Linked DNA regions of Homo sapiens: region 2 is linked to region 1. Evidence: promoter capture Hi-C in human tissues and cell types (Jung and others, 2019). All regions are on one chromosome and are shown on one strand. Each heading gives the region's core, a stretch centred on a gene start or on the middle of the fragment in contact. The rest is flanking DNA. Distances are from core to core; before and after follow the strand shown. Region 1 holds the start of HHAT (hedgehog acyltransferase). Region 2 overlaps SYT14 (synaptotagmin 14).

Evidence for each region. The method cuts DNA at HindIII sites, captures the fragments that hold promoters and counts their contacts. A contact is called where the count stands out against the background at its distance.
Region 2: a contact is called between a fragment that was not itself captured here and the fragment with the promoter of HHAT in region 1, in 1 of the 25 tissues and cell types used here (bladder).

What each region holds. Positions count from the first base shown.
Region 1 is chr1:210,325,044-210,331,932 of GRCh38, forward strand. HHAT (hedgehog acyltransferase) reads left to right here and starts at 3,859. Exons shown (of 12, transcript NM_018194.6): 1 at 3,859-4,061. RefSeq lists enhancers at 3,032-3,201, 4,076-4,435, 5,548-5,717 and a silencer at 3,666-3,915. The HindIII fragment of the contact is 7,053 bases long and covers 1,634-6,889 here.
Region 2 is chr1:210,171,013-210,177,166 of GRCh38, forward strand. It overlaps SYT14 (synaptotagmin 14), which reads left to right. Exons shown (of 9, transcript NM_001146262.4): 9 at 1-303. Among named protein-coding and RNA genes, the nearest start is that of SERTAD4, 59 kb to the right of the region's middle. The HindIII fragment of the contact is 4,632 bases long and covers 663-5,294 here.

The sequences.
Region 1 (6,889 bases), core at 2,609-5,108:
CCTCCTCTTTAAGGCCAGTAACTCTCAGATTTGCCTTTTGAGGCTATTTTCTAGATCTTGTAGGTGTACTTCATTTTTTAAAATTATTTTTTCTTTTGTCTCCTCCCACTGTGTATTTTCAAATAGCCTGCCTTCAAGCTCACTAATTCTTTCTTCTACTTGATCAATTCTGCTATTAAAGGATTCAGATGCATTCTTCAGCATATCAATTGTATTTTTCAGCTCCAGAATTTCGGGCTTAATTCTTTTCAATTATTTCATTTGCTTCATTAAATTTACCTGGTAGGATTCTGAATTCCATCTCATGTTTTCTTGAATTTCATTGAGTTTCTTCAAAAGAGCTATTTTGAATTCTCTGTCTGAAAGGTCACTCTGGGATTGATGCCTTATTTAGTTTGTTTGGTGATGTCATGTTTTCCTGGATGGTCTTGATGCTTGTGAATGTGTGTCAGTGTCTGGGCATTGAAGAGTTAGGTACTTATTGTAGTCTTCACAGGGTGGGCTTGTTTGTATTCATCCTTCTTGGGAAGGCTTTCCAGGTATTCTAAGGGACTTGGGTGTTGTCATTTAGGTTTGGGTCACTGCCATCATATCTGCATTAGAGGGCACCTCAAGCTCAGGAATGCTACGGCTCTTGCAGACTCAGAGGTACCACCTTAGTGGTCTTGCATAAGATCTGAGAGAATCTTTCCCCAGCTGCTGCTGTAGGATGAGGGAGGGGTAGCGTCTGCAATTCAAGACTGTCTTCTCTACGCTTTTCAGTGCCTCTTTCAGTGATATGAAGTTAAAACTTGGTACTGCAATGGCCCACTTGATCTTTGGTTCTTATTAAGGTGTTTTTTGTTGATAGTTGTTCATTTTGTTGTTCTTGAAGGGAGGACAATTGGTGGAAGCTTCTATTTGGCATCTTGCCCCACCTCCCTTAGATTTTGATAAATTTTAAGTTTTCATACTGCCAAATTGCTTACCCAACTAAACATTGTGTGTGAGTGCTATCACATAGCACCCATGCCAGGCTGTAATGTTATTTATTAATTTTTTGCCAACTTAATGTGTGAAAATTGTGTGTTCTTGTTTTTTTTTTTTTTTTTTTTTTTTTTGAGACGGGGTCTTGCTCAGTCACCCAGGCTGGAGTGCAGTGGCACGATCTCGGCTCACTGCAACCTCTGCCTCCCGGGTTCACGCCATTCTCCTGCCTCAGCCTCCCGAGTAGCTGGGACTACAGACACCCGCCACGATGCCTGGCTAATTTTGTTTTTGTATTTTTAGTAGAGACGGGGTTTCACCACGTTAGCCAGGATGGTCTTGATCTCCTGACTTCGTGATCCACCCACCTTGGCCTCCCAAAGTGCTGGGATTACAGGCGTGAGCCACCATGTTCTTGTTTTACTATGCATTTCATTGAGCTTTTTGCAATATATTTTTGTTTCCTACTTTTATTTCCCTCCTCCTTTTTCTAGTGGGTTGTCTATAAATGTGTCTTGCTCATCTATAATTGATTTCTAATGTTTTCTTATTGATTGTATTAACTCTATATATAATTTTAAAATTAACACTTTGCAAATTTCTTGCAAATATCCCAGTCTATTGCTTATCTTTAAATTTTGGCTATTATGGCCAAGCATGGTGGCTCACACCTGTAATCCCAGCACTTTGGGAGGCTGAGGCAGGTGCATCACTTGAGGCCAGGAGTTCGAGACCAGCCTGGCCAACAAGGCAAAACCCTGTCTCTACTAAATAGCCAGGTGTGGTGGCTGGTGCTTGCCTGTAATCCCAGCCACTCAGGTGGCTAAGGCACAAGAATTGCTTGAATCTGCAGTGAGCTGAGATCATGCCACTGTGCTTAGCCTGGGTGACACAGTGAGACTGTCTCTAATACATACATATATATATATATATATATATATATATATATACACACACACATAAATTTTGGCTATTTTTATTTGATGTTTCTGATTGCCTGTGTTTAAATCTGCCTTTATCTCCTTTGTGTTCGCCGGTGAATTTAAAGTGCATATGTAGACAGGGGTTAAGTGTAAATCACACTGAACCTATATTAACAACAGCATCTTTTAGAAATAATATAGGAGCTGTTATCACATCCCTGTCCCTGAGTTTGACACTACCTGAGTTGAGTTCTTATTCTGCCACTCCCTCTGCCAAACCCTTGGATCTAGAGTTGACAGATAAAATACCCAGTTAAGTTTGATTTTCAGATACCCAGGATGTAAATTTGAATTTCAGATATACCATTTTTTTTTTTTTTTTTTGGTAGAGATGGAGTTTCATCATGTTGGCCAGGCTGGTCTCGAACTCCTGGATTCAAGTTATCTACTCACCTCGACCTCCCAAAGTGCTGGGATTACAAGCTTCCTGTAAGTACTTAAAAAAAATAAGTATATCCCAAATATTGCATGGGTCATAGTGATACTAAAAAGTTACATATTGTTCACCTGAAATTATTTACTTATTTTTTTGAGACAGAGTCCGGCTCAGTCACCCAGGTTGGAGTGCAGTGGTGCGATCTGAGCTCACTGCAACCTCTGCCGCCCGGGTTCAAGCGATTCTCGTGCCTCAGCCTCCCAAGTGGCTGGGATTACAGGTGCAGGCCACCACACCCGGCTAATTTTTGTATTTTTAGTAGAGACGGGGTCTCACCATGTTGGCCAGGCTGGTCTCAAACTCCTGGCCTCAAGTGATCCTCCTGCTACCGCTCCTAAAGTGCTGAGATTACAGGCGTGGGCCACCGCGCCCAGCCTGAAATTCAATTTTAATTGAGTATGCTGTATTTTTATTTGCTAAATCTGGCACTCCTATTTGGGGCTAGTTTACTAACACCTGCTTACTGAACACCATCCAGTACCAGGTTTTGGGGTGAGTGGGTTGGGGGGAAGCAGAAAGAAAAGATAGCTCCAGCTCTTGGAGAGTTCATACTCTGGTTTCCTGGAGAATTCTAAAATCATTAAAATAATCCTCTCGACCATTACAATGACTGCTAGATGAAATTTCTGAGAGCACAGCTTCCGAGTTTCCCTGCTGCCTAGGGCAGAGTTATCCACCTTCACCTTATCATAGAACCACCTGAGACGCCCCTGCCATGGACAGTCTGATGCTTTTGGTTTGGGGAGGGATCCAGAAGCCCGAGGTTTTAATGAGAGCCACGTGATTCTGCTGAGATAAGTCTGGAGAACTCTGGCAAGCCTGTCTCTTGGCTCAGGCTTGGAGGCCTCCGAGCAGCAACATCGTCCCAATTATACCCCGTTGGAGCATCTTCAGATCTTCCACTCTTTTCACAACGCAATCAAAATCTTCGTACCCATTTTGCAGTAGTGATCTCTGTAAGTTGCTTTACAATTCATAAAGTTTATTCTATTTGATCTTCACTCTAATTTACAAAGAAAAGCAGGGAAGTCTATTTCTGTTTTACAGAGGTGTACAGGGAGGCTCACAGGGGCTAAGTTCACACAGTAAGCCCTCGAAGCTGCCAGGGCTGCAAAGCCCACCCTCTTTCCACCGCACCGAACTACCTCCTTTCGCCTACAAAACGTAGGTGGGGACCACTGGTGTTGGAATGACGGCCCACCTCGAGTTTCAGGTGACTTCCACTCTGCAATTAACTTGCAGGCAGCCCCAGACCTGCAATGAACACACGGGTGGGGGAGAGATATGCACGCCAGGGTCAGTGGGAACCAACAGCCGAGGGGTGAGCGGGGCTAGGGGCCCCGGGCCGCCGGCGGGGCAAACGCGGTTCAGAAACGCAGGCCGCGCTCTGGCCCGCCCCCTGCAGCAGCACGGCCTGCTCGCCATCGCCCGGAGAGCGCCGCGGGTTCCCGAGTCCGGGCGCGGAGGGCGCGCGGGCACGGCGGCAGGGGCGTGCTCGGAGGACGCGCGCTGCGCTGCTCCTCCAAAGGGCAGCTCCGGGGGAAAGAGGGTGGCGTCCCGGGGAAGCCCGCAGCCGCCGCCGATGTCGCTGGGACTCGGAAGTGCCGAAAGAGGGGTGTTGGGAACTCGCGGCGCGCGTGAACGTTGCCGTCGCCGCCGCCCGGGACAGCCCGGAGGTTGGTAACTGGTGACCATAGGGGGTCCTGGGGAGGTTAGATGCTGAATTTTCTGCGTCAGTTTACTCTGTTAAAAAAAAAATGCACAAAACGCTTTCCGTTTCCTACCCAAGTTCCCGTGTGCGCGCCCGAGGGCGGGACAGAGGAAGTTCCCGGTCGGGCGAAGAAGACAAAAGCGGCGGGGGCCGCGCGCGCAGTGCGCCCGGGCAAAGGCGGGGATCTAGGCGCCGGGACAAGTCCGCGCACGGCCCTGCCCACGTCCTCTCTCCTTGGCTTCGTCCCCAGCTTCCGGAACTGCTGCGGGGAGTTGCGAACTCTGGTCCTCTTGGCAGTATCGGCGGTGCGCCTGCCTGCCTGCTGTGACTCCAGGGACTCTAAAGTTAGAGACTTCCTTTGCGTTCTATCTTCAGGACTCAGTTTTCTTCCTCTGTTCTGAGTCTAACCTTCAGGTGGCAGGTCTTTATGCGGAAAAACCCTCCCGCTAATCCTCACCAGAGGTACTTTACGGGTAGCATTGGTGTTAAGAAATGTGCTGCTACCTGTGTACATTGCTCTTGGATCAGGGTTGTAGGGCTAGGGCATTTGGCATCCTCAGAGGTTTGCATTACGTGGGAGTGAGACATTGCTTCTCTTTCTGTTTTTGTTGTTGTTTGTGTTTTTGAGGCGGAGTTTCGCTCTGGTCGCCCAGGCTGGAGTGCAATGGCACAATCTCAGCTCACTGCAACCTCAGCATCCCGGTTTCAAGCGATTCTCCAGCCTTGCCTCCTGAGTAGCTGGGATTACAGGCATGCGCCACCACGCCCACCTAATTTTGTATTTTTAGTAGAGACGAGGGTCTCACCGTGTTGGCCAGGCTGGTCTCGAATTCCTGACCTCGGGTGATCTGCCCACCTCGACCTCCCAAAGTGCTGGGATTACAGGCGTGAGCCACCGTGCCTGGCATCTCATTCATTCTCAGAGCTAAGGACCTATTTCAATGTGATTAAGTGCTATGGGAATGCAAGGAGAGGAGAGGGAAGGCTTCATTGAAGAGGCGGTAGTTCATTGAAGGAGACTTTGAGGAATGATTTTTTTCCCCTTCCATTCCTCATGTTCCATTTTCCCTGTGATTTTTCTCCCTCCTTTCTCGTTGCCAGTCAGTCCCTAATTGTGATTGTTTGATAAGGACAGCTCTGACCTGAGAGATTCAATTAATGTTAATTTAAGGAGACTGTGTGCTTATTAGGTGCTTTAGATACATTATTTCTAAACCTTACAGTAACTGGGAAAGATAAGTGTTGTTATCTCTTTTCACAGTAGGATAGAGAAAGCCTTGGAGGGGAGCCAAAGCCACAAACTAGTACATGTCAGGGCCGGGTTTTGGACTCCTCTTTTGGATCAACGCCTGTGCTTTATCTACTGTTTACTTTGCCCCCTCCTTGGAAGTAGGTTAGATGGATGAACTTAGGGTGAAAGTCAATTCTTTGGAGGGAGCAGCCGTTTTTGTGGGTGGCCAGATGTTGGTGGGAGCTCTGTAGGTAGCATCAGGAACTTGCGAGCATGGGCCTTACCTGCACCCCCTGCTTCCAGCTTAGGACCTGGCCCAGGGGGAATGTTCCCTAAAGCAGTGGTCCCCAACCTTTTTGGCACCAAGGACCGGTTTCATGGACAATAAGTTTTTCATGGACTGGGGGAAGGGGGATGGTGTTGGGATAATTCAAGCACGTTACATTTATTTTATTTATTTGTTTTGAGACAAGAGTCTCGCTGGGTCACCCAGGCTGGAGTGCAGTGGCACGATACTGGCTCACTGCAACCTCCACCTCTGGGGATCAAGCAATTCTCGTGCCTCAGCCTCCGGAGTAGCTTACAGGCATGCGACACCACATCTGGCTAATTTTTGTATTTTTAGTAGAGACAGGATTTCACCATGTCAACCAGGCTGGTCTCAAATTCCTGAGCTCGAACTCCTGAGCTCAAGCCATCCTCTCCTTGGCCTCCCAAAGTGCTGGGATTACAGGTGTGAATCACCATGCCCCACCTGCATTACATTTATTGTGGACTTTATTTCTATTATTATTACATTGTAATATGAATACAACTCACCATAGAGTAGAATCAGTGGGACCCCTGAGCTTGTTTTTCTGCAACTAGGCAGTCCCATCTGGGGGGGTGTGTTGGTAGACATTGACACCCAAAGTGTGTTTGCTTATGTCCAGCCTACTTCATAGTCTCATTTTGGTTGCTGTCACTGCAGAAGACCCTGCTTCACAAAGATAGGATGTTGGAAATGGAAGCAGGCTTTTCGGTGCTTTTGTGGCAATTTCAGGATACTTTGCCTTGACTTTAATCCAGAATGTATGGATATTTGAAGTTGTCTTAAACATACTTCTAGGGCCCGGTCATTTGCTATCTCAAACAGTTGGTCCTCTTCTAGCATGGACAAAGTCAATTCACCTGGCTTATTCACAAATGGATCTAGGATCCTTCCCAGTTCGGGTGTCTTTTGTAGTTGGGAAGTAATGCTCAAACTCTTTTGAAAGCTGAGATAGGTGATCATGCACCAGCTGGGAGAGAGAAGGCCCTGGCTTAGTCTCTTTCAAAATCTCTGCTAATGTTTGAAACGTGTCAGAAATCCCAGTGTTCACTTGTCGCCGCAATAATTCCAGTTTGGTTTTGAGTGCAGCCACTTATCTGCCGACTTGAACACAGTTCTCCCCTGAAGGGACAGATGGAGTTCATTGAGGAGGTAAGCAAGTAAGCAAGTTTTGTAACCCCTTCTATGAAATGTGCTGCCAGTGGTGACTACTTTTCTAGAAGAAATCTCTGGAGTGGCCCTCATAACTCAA
Region 2 (6,154 bases), core at 1,729-4,228, 150 kb before region 1:
GTTCTTTCACTTAATGTGAATTTGTTGTCATTCATATCAGTATTGCTATCCTGTTTAACAAAATAATTTTCTCTTTGCCAATAGTAGTTTGTTGATTTTTAATTCTTTTTCATTAGCTAGTTGTATTGTTTCCCTAAGACCTGGAGTTTAGATATTTTTCATATTTCATTACCTTGTCCATTTTACTTCCAGCAACAAAGATTTATAACAACAGACTTAACAAGTACTATTTTGCATATGAAAAAGAATTTAAACGTTTGGTGCTCTAAAACTGAAAGAAATTAAAGTTGCTGCATCATCTAATCTCTGATTGTCTTTGAATCCTTAGTTCCATAAATTATCCAGAGCCTTTTTTAGTTAACATTTTTAAAGAGGGGAATGCCAGTGCCCAATTGGTCTGGGTTTTTTTTTTTCCTTTTTGTAAAGTTGTCTCTACTGAAATATAATGAAAACATGAAACACTTCTTCTGCTCAGAATAAATGGGTTCATAATGTAATCTCCAGTCTACAATTTAAGGAATTTGTATCCTTTCCCAGTACTCACTGCTGAATTATTCCCCCGCTCTCAAACATTTTGAGCTTCTATTATTAAGACATTTAGGCTGGGCACAGTGGCTCATGCCTGTAATCCCAGCACTTTGGGAGGCTGAGACGGGCAGATCACAAGGTCAGGAGTTCAAGATCAGCCTGGCCAACATGGTGAAGCCCCATCTCTACTAAATAAACACAAAAAATTCATCGGGCGTGGTGGTGCATGCTTGTAGTCCCAGCTACTCTGGAGGCTGAGGCAGGAGAATCGCTTGAACCTGGCAGGCGGAGGTTGCAGTGAGCCAAGATCGCGCCACTGCACTGCAGCCTGGGTGACAAAGCAAGACTCTGTCTCAAAAAAAAAAAAAAAAAAAAAGACATTTAAGGTTAAAAAAGCCAAAAGTAACAGATTTGCTTGAGTGTTGACAAAATTTGTTTTCTGAATTGTAAGAAATGTCTTACTTAGGGACAATTTATTATTTAATACTTTGAAAAACTTTATTTTCATTTGGGTCTTTCAGAGAATTACAATTAATATAAAGTGAAATTCCAGCAAAAAAATTGGCACATCTGCATTCTTGCTAATAAATCATGAAATTATCATTTTCTATTGTTATAAATGGATTTAGTAGTTATTCATTATAACAGGTTACTATATTTAAGGTATGTTTTTTGTTTGTTTTTCTCTTTTTTAAACCAAAACCTCACCAACCATTATATTTTAATTGCAAATTGATTGTAACTCCTTTGATCTCCAATATGCAAAATAATATTTAAGCCAACTTTTTCTTTCCATAGATTATCAAAATATTTCATGATATTTCCCATTTGAAAATAAAGTCATTCCCAATTTTAAAATAAATGGTCTCAGTAAAGGTATATATGGGATATTTTATTAGTAATTTACAATGAATTATAAAAATACACTACATATTTTTATGAAATTAAGTGCCAAATAAATGGGGCAAATTATGTGAGGATCTCATAAACTTATATTGATTAGTAAGAGAAAAAATGAAAACATCTACTCAGCATAAAGAAAATATATCTAAAGGAAAACCTTCCAAAGAATACTTTTAATATGTGGTAGCAACTGCCAATTCTTCACCAGAACCCATGTATTTCTCTTTCTTGTTCATATGGCTAGCTTACTATTTCTAATGTCTTGCCTTGAGATTAGGCATGGCCATGTGACTGAGTTCTAGCCAACTGAATACAACCAGAGATGATGTCCAATTTCTAGGAGGTTTTATTTTTTGAGACAGAGTCTTGCTCTTTTGCCCAGGCTGGGGTGCAGTGGCACAATCACAGCTCACTACAGCTTTGATGTCCCAAACTCAAGCAATCGTCCCACCTCAACCTCCCCAGTAGCTGGGACTACAGGTGCATGCCACCACACTCGGCTAATATTTTTATTTTTTGTAGAGACAGGGTCTCACTATGGTGCCCAGGCTGGTCCTGACCTCAGGGGCTCAAACCGTCCACCTGCGTTGGCCTCCCAAAGTGTTGGGATTACAGGTGTGAGCCACCACGCCCAGCCCAGGAGGCTTTTTAAGAATCAAATATGGCCAGGCATGGTGGCATATACCTGTAGCCCCAGTTACGTGGGAGGCTGAGGCAGGAGGATCATTTGAACCCAGGATGTGGAGGTTGCAATGAGCCGAGATTGTGCCATTGCACTCCAGCCTAGGCAACAAAGGGCGTTCCTGTCTCAAAAAAAAAAAAAAAAAAAAAAAGGAATCAAATATGCCTTTTCCGTGCATTCTTTCACTTTCCACTGGCTGGACACAGAGAAAACTGAAAGCTTTCAGGAATGGCAAAGCCCCAAGTTGGAGAGATTCTGGGTCACTGAGTCACCTCACAGAAAACAGACAACCAGGTATGTATACCTTGGAATGACAGCATAATAAGGAAAAAAAAACTTCTATTATTTTTGAGCCATTACTTATTTTGGAGTACATTTGTTACTATAAACAACCGAAACTAAAAAACTATTGATACCTTCCAGTGGAGTTCTGTGAGAATGAAAACCTGAAATATTCTACATTAACTTAGCAGGCAGGCAGCCAGTGGTGAGGAAATAGATATAGCAGCCTGGAAACCTGTAGCCGTATTTTGCAGTGGCAAAGCACGGATAACCAGTTGCCTGTATATTGAAGGTGGTCAGTGCAACTACCGAAAGTGTAGTTCAGGGGAAATGGATGGAAAGAGCCAGAGTAGCGGTGCATTTGAGATTTTCCTTGCTAAAATGTATTATGAGAAAGCAGTAAACTCAGGCAGGAGTTCTGTGGCTCTCACGGAGAGATTGAAGGGAATGGAAAAGAGCCCTGAGATTAACTGCCTTGGGGTTGGAAAAGTCTGCTGCTTCTGGATTCCCAAGTATTAAGATAGAAAATTGAAAAAAGTGTTGAATAAGAAAAGCCCATTGAGACTGCTCAACCAAACACAGGGACTCAACCTCATGGCAAATATCAGAATTGTTTTAGTGTTCCCTCCTGTTTCAGAGGAACTCCAGGCCAACTTTCATCCTCATGAAGCAAGCTATGAAAGTTGTGTGGCCTCCAAGAAGGAAACAGTTCTCAATATCTGCTTCAAATGAAACCATAGCATGTAACAGTCTTCGGACTCCTCAGAAGTCAGAGCAGGGGATCACTGAGAATAATGAATAACAGAGTTCCTCTTAGAAAATAGATGGAGCCAAACAAAAAACTGCCCCTAGGCCAGGCGTGGCAGCTCACGCCTATAATCCCAACACTTTGGGAGGGTGGGGCAGAGGGATGCCAGGAGTTAGAGACTAGCCTGGCCAACAAAGGGAGACCCAATCTCTACCAATAAATAAATAAGTCGGGCGTGGTGGCACACGCCTATAGTCCCAGCTACTCAGGAGGTTGAGGTGGGAGGATCATTTGAACCCAGGAGTTCGAAGCTGCAGTGAGCTATGCTCATATCACTGCACTCTTGCGCTCTGGCCTGGTTGGCAGAGCAAGACCCTGTCTCTAAAAAAAACAGGAAACAGAAATAAACATTTAAAAACTGCCTCTGCTGAGAGAATTGGGGGCCGGGGTTTCACTGCTGTGAATCAATGACTGCTATGTTTCTCATTCGTCCCTTTTTCAAATGGGAATTTTTAATGGCAGTTATCTTCTTCCTGCTCTGCATTATGTATTTAGTGGAAGTTGGAGGGGCAGATATCTTTAAATTCCCAGGTCATTGGACTTGATGGAAAGGAGAGTGTATCACCAGAGATAGAGGACTTGGAGAAGACTGCAATAACTGGATGGGACTTTAGGTGGTCTTCTTTAGGGAGAAAGTAAGCTATTTAACTAAACCTTTGTTCTCTTCCTGGACGCATGCTAGACTACATTTCCCAGCCTCTCTTGCAAGTATCTGTGGTTATGGGACTGAGTCCTAGCCAACTGGAATGTGAGTGGAAGTGGTATGTACCATTTCTAGGCCCAGTGCCTCCATGGTCTCTCTCCCCATGCATTAGCTGGTTACAGAAGATGGCTAATATACTAAGGGATGGTGAAGCCACAGATGAAAGGAGCCTGGGTCCTTGATTCACTGCTTGGAGGTCATCACCCATCAACCAGTAATATCTTCAGAGTGTTACATGAGAAAGAAAAACTTCCACTGTGTATTTGAGCTGTTATTCATTTGGGGTCTATTTTATCCCTGCAGCACTAGCATACACTGATAAGTAAACTCATAGTAACTGAGGAAAATGCTAGATAGCACTGTAGCAAAAAAACAGAAGTTCCAAACAATATTTGGAAAGGCAAGGTCTAACACCTAATTGTTGGGGGCAAAAATCAAAGAGTAAGATAAGTCTCCAGAACACTGCCTGCCAGCAGTACTGGAAGGAGTTATTTTAGGAATGGATTGTAAGGCTTTTGGAGAGATTCAAAATGCCTAACTCTCCAACTTCATCAAACTACAAGAAATGAGTTTAACTGTGACCCAAGGGATGAAATGAAGTGATAGGTAGAAAGCCAGAGGAACAACTAAAACCTGAGCATCAAACCTACAGACATAACTGAAGCAATAAGAATGTTGGAGGAACACATTTGTAGGGTGAAGAGAGAAAGAACCCAAGCAGTGACCAGAGTTAAGGCAAGGACACCAGAAATGTCATGAGGGGCAAATGAAAACCAGATTGTCAAATCCCTTGAATCCAGACTAGAGACTTGAATAGTTAACCCCATAAGGTTTAGAGTAGAAGAGTAATTTTAAGAAGGCCAGTTTAATAGGGGTAAGAATCAGAAAGAGATCCATTGGAAGCTTTTTTTTTTTTTAAGATGGGGTCTCACTCTGTCGCCGGGCTGGAGTGCAGTGGCACAATCTCAGCTCAATGCAACCTCTGCCTCGTGGGTTCAAGTGATTCTCCTGCCTGAGCCTCCCAAGTAGCTGAGATGACAGGTGCCCGCCACCACGCCTGGCTAATTTTTGTATTTTTAGTAGAGACGGGGTTTCAGCACGTTGGCCAGGCTGGTCTCAAACTCCTGACCTCAGGTGATCCACCTGCCTCGGCTTCCCAAAGTGCTAAGATTATGGGTGTGAGCCACCGCGCCTGGCCGGAAGCTATTTTTTTAAAACCAGATGTTTAAAATCATAAGTGATTAGATATAAGGTAATACTAGTAACCTAGATCATGTGAATAGAGAATTTTTTTTCTTTAATGAGATGAGTGAGAGAGACATTGAAAAGGAAGCGTTCTGAGAATTGATGACCAATTCAGTGAGGAGTCATGCAAAGCACTGGAATGACCAAGTCACAGGAATCAAGAGCTGACATCCTCTCATTAGAATATACGTTCCCCAATGGCAGAAACTTTTCACAACTGTGTGCCCCATGCCTGAACAGTATCTAGGGCATAAAATGAATGAGTATTAATGAATCTTTATTTCTGATGGAGTTTGGGACATTGGGAAGTTTGAGGGGGCTTGAGAGTTTTTTTTGGGGGGTGTCTTTTTAGGCAGCTATTTGTTTTAATTGAATAGAATCAGCCAAGAATGGTTAGATTATATTTAATGTGCATTATTTTCCAAAGCAATAAAAATATACAAATACACTTGAGAAATATATTCAATAATACCTGAGATGAAAAGAATACTTGTTCAACAAAAAGAAGTTGATTTATGAAACCCCATTTCCTCTGTGATTTCTGGCTCATTAATTGATTTTTTAAAAAACCTCTATTTCTGACATTGCTATAACTGTTAATAGGGAAACAATACTAAGCTGACACCAAGCTTTTTTTTTCAATAAACTTCATTTTAGAACAGTTGTAGATTTACAGAAAAATTCAGATGATACTACAGAGAGTTCCCATACACCATGCACCCAGATCCCCCTATTAATAACATCTTACACTGGTACATTTTTTACAACTAATATCCAATTTGCTTCATTATAATTAAATGAAATCCCTGGTTTAATCAGATTTTCTTAGTCACCTCTCCTTGCCTATCTAATGCCCTATTGCTGTTCCAGGATCCTGTTTAGGATCTCACACTGCGTTTATTTATATGTCTCCTTAGGCTTCTTGTGCCTATGACAGTTTCTCAAACACTCCTTGTTTTTGACGACCTTGACAGTTTTGAGGAGGACTGGACAGGTATTTTGT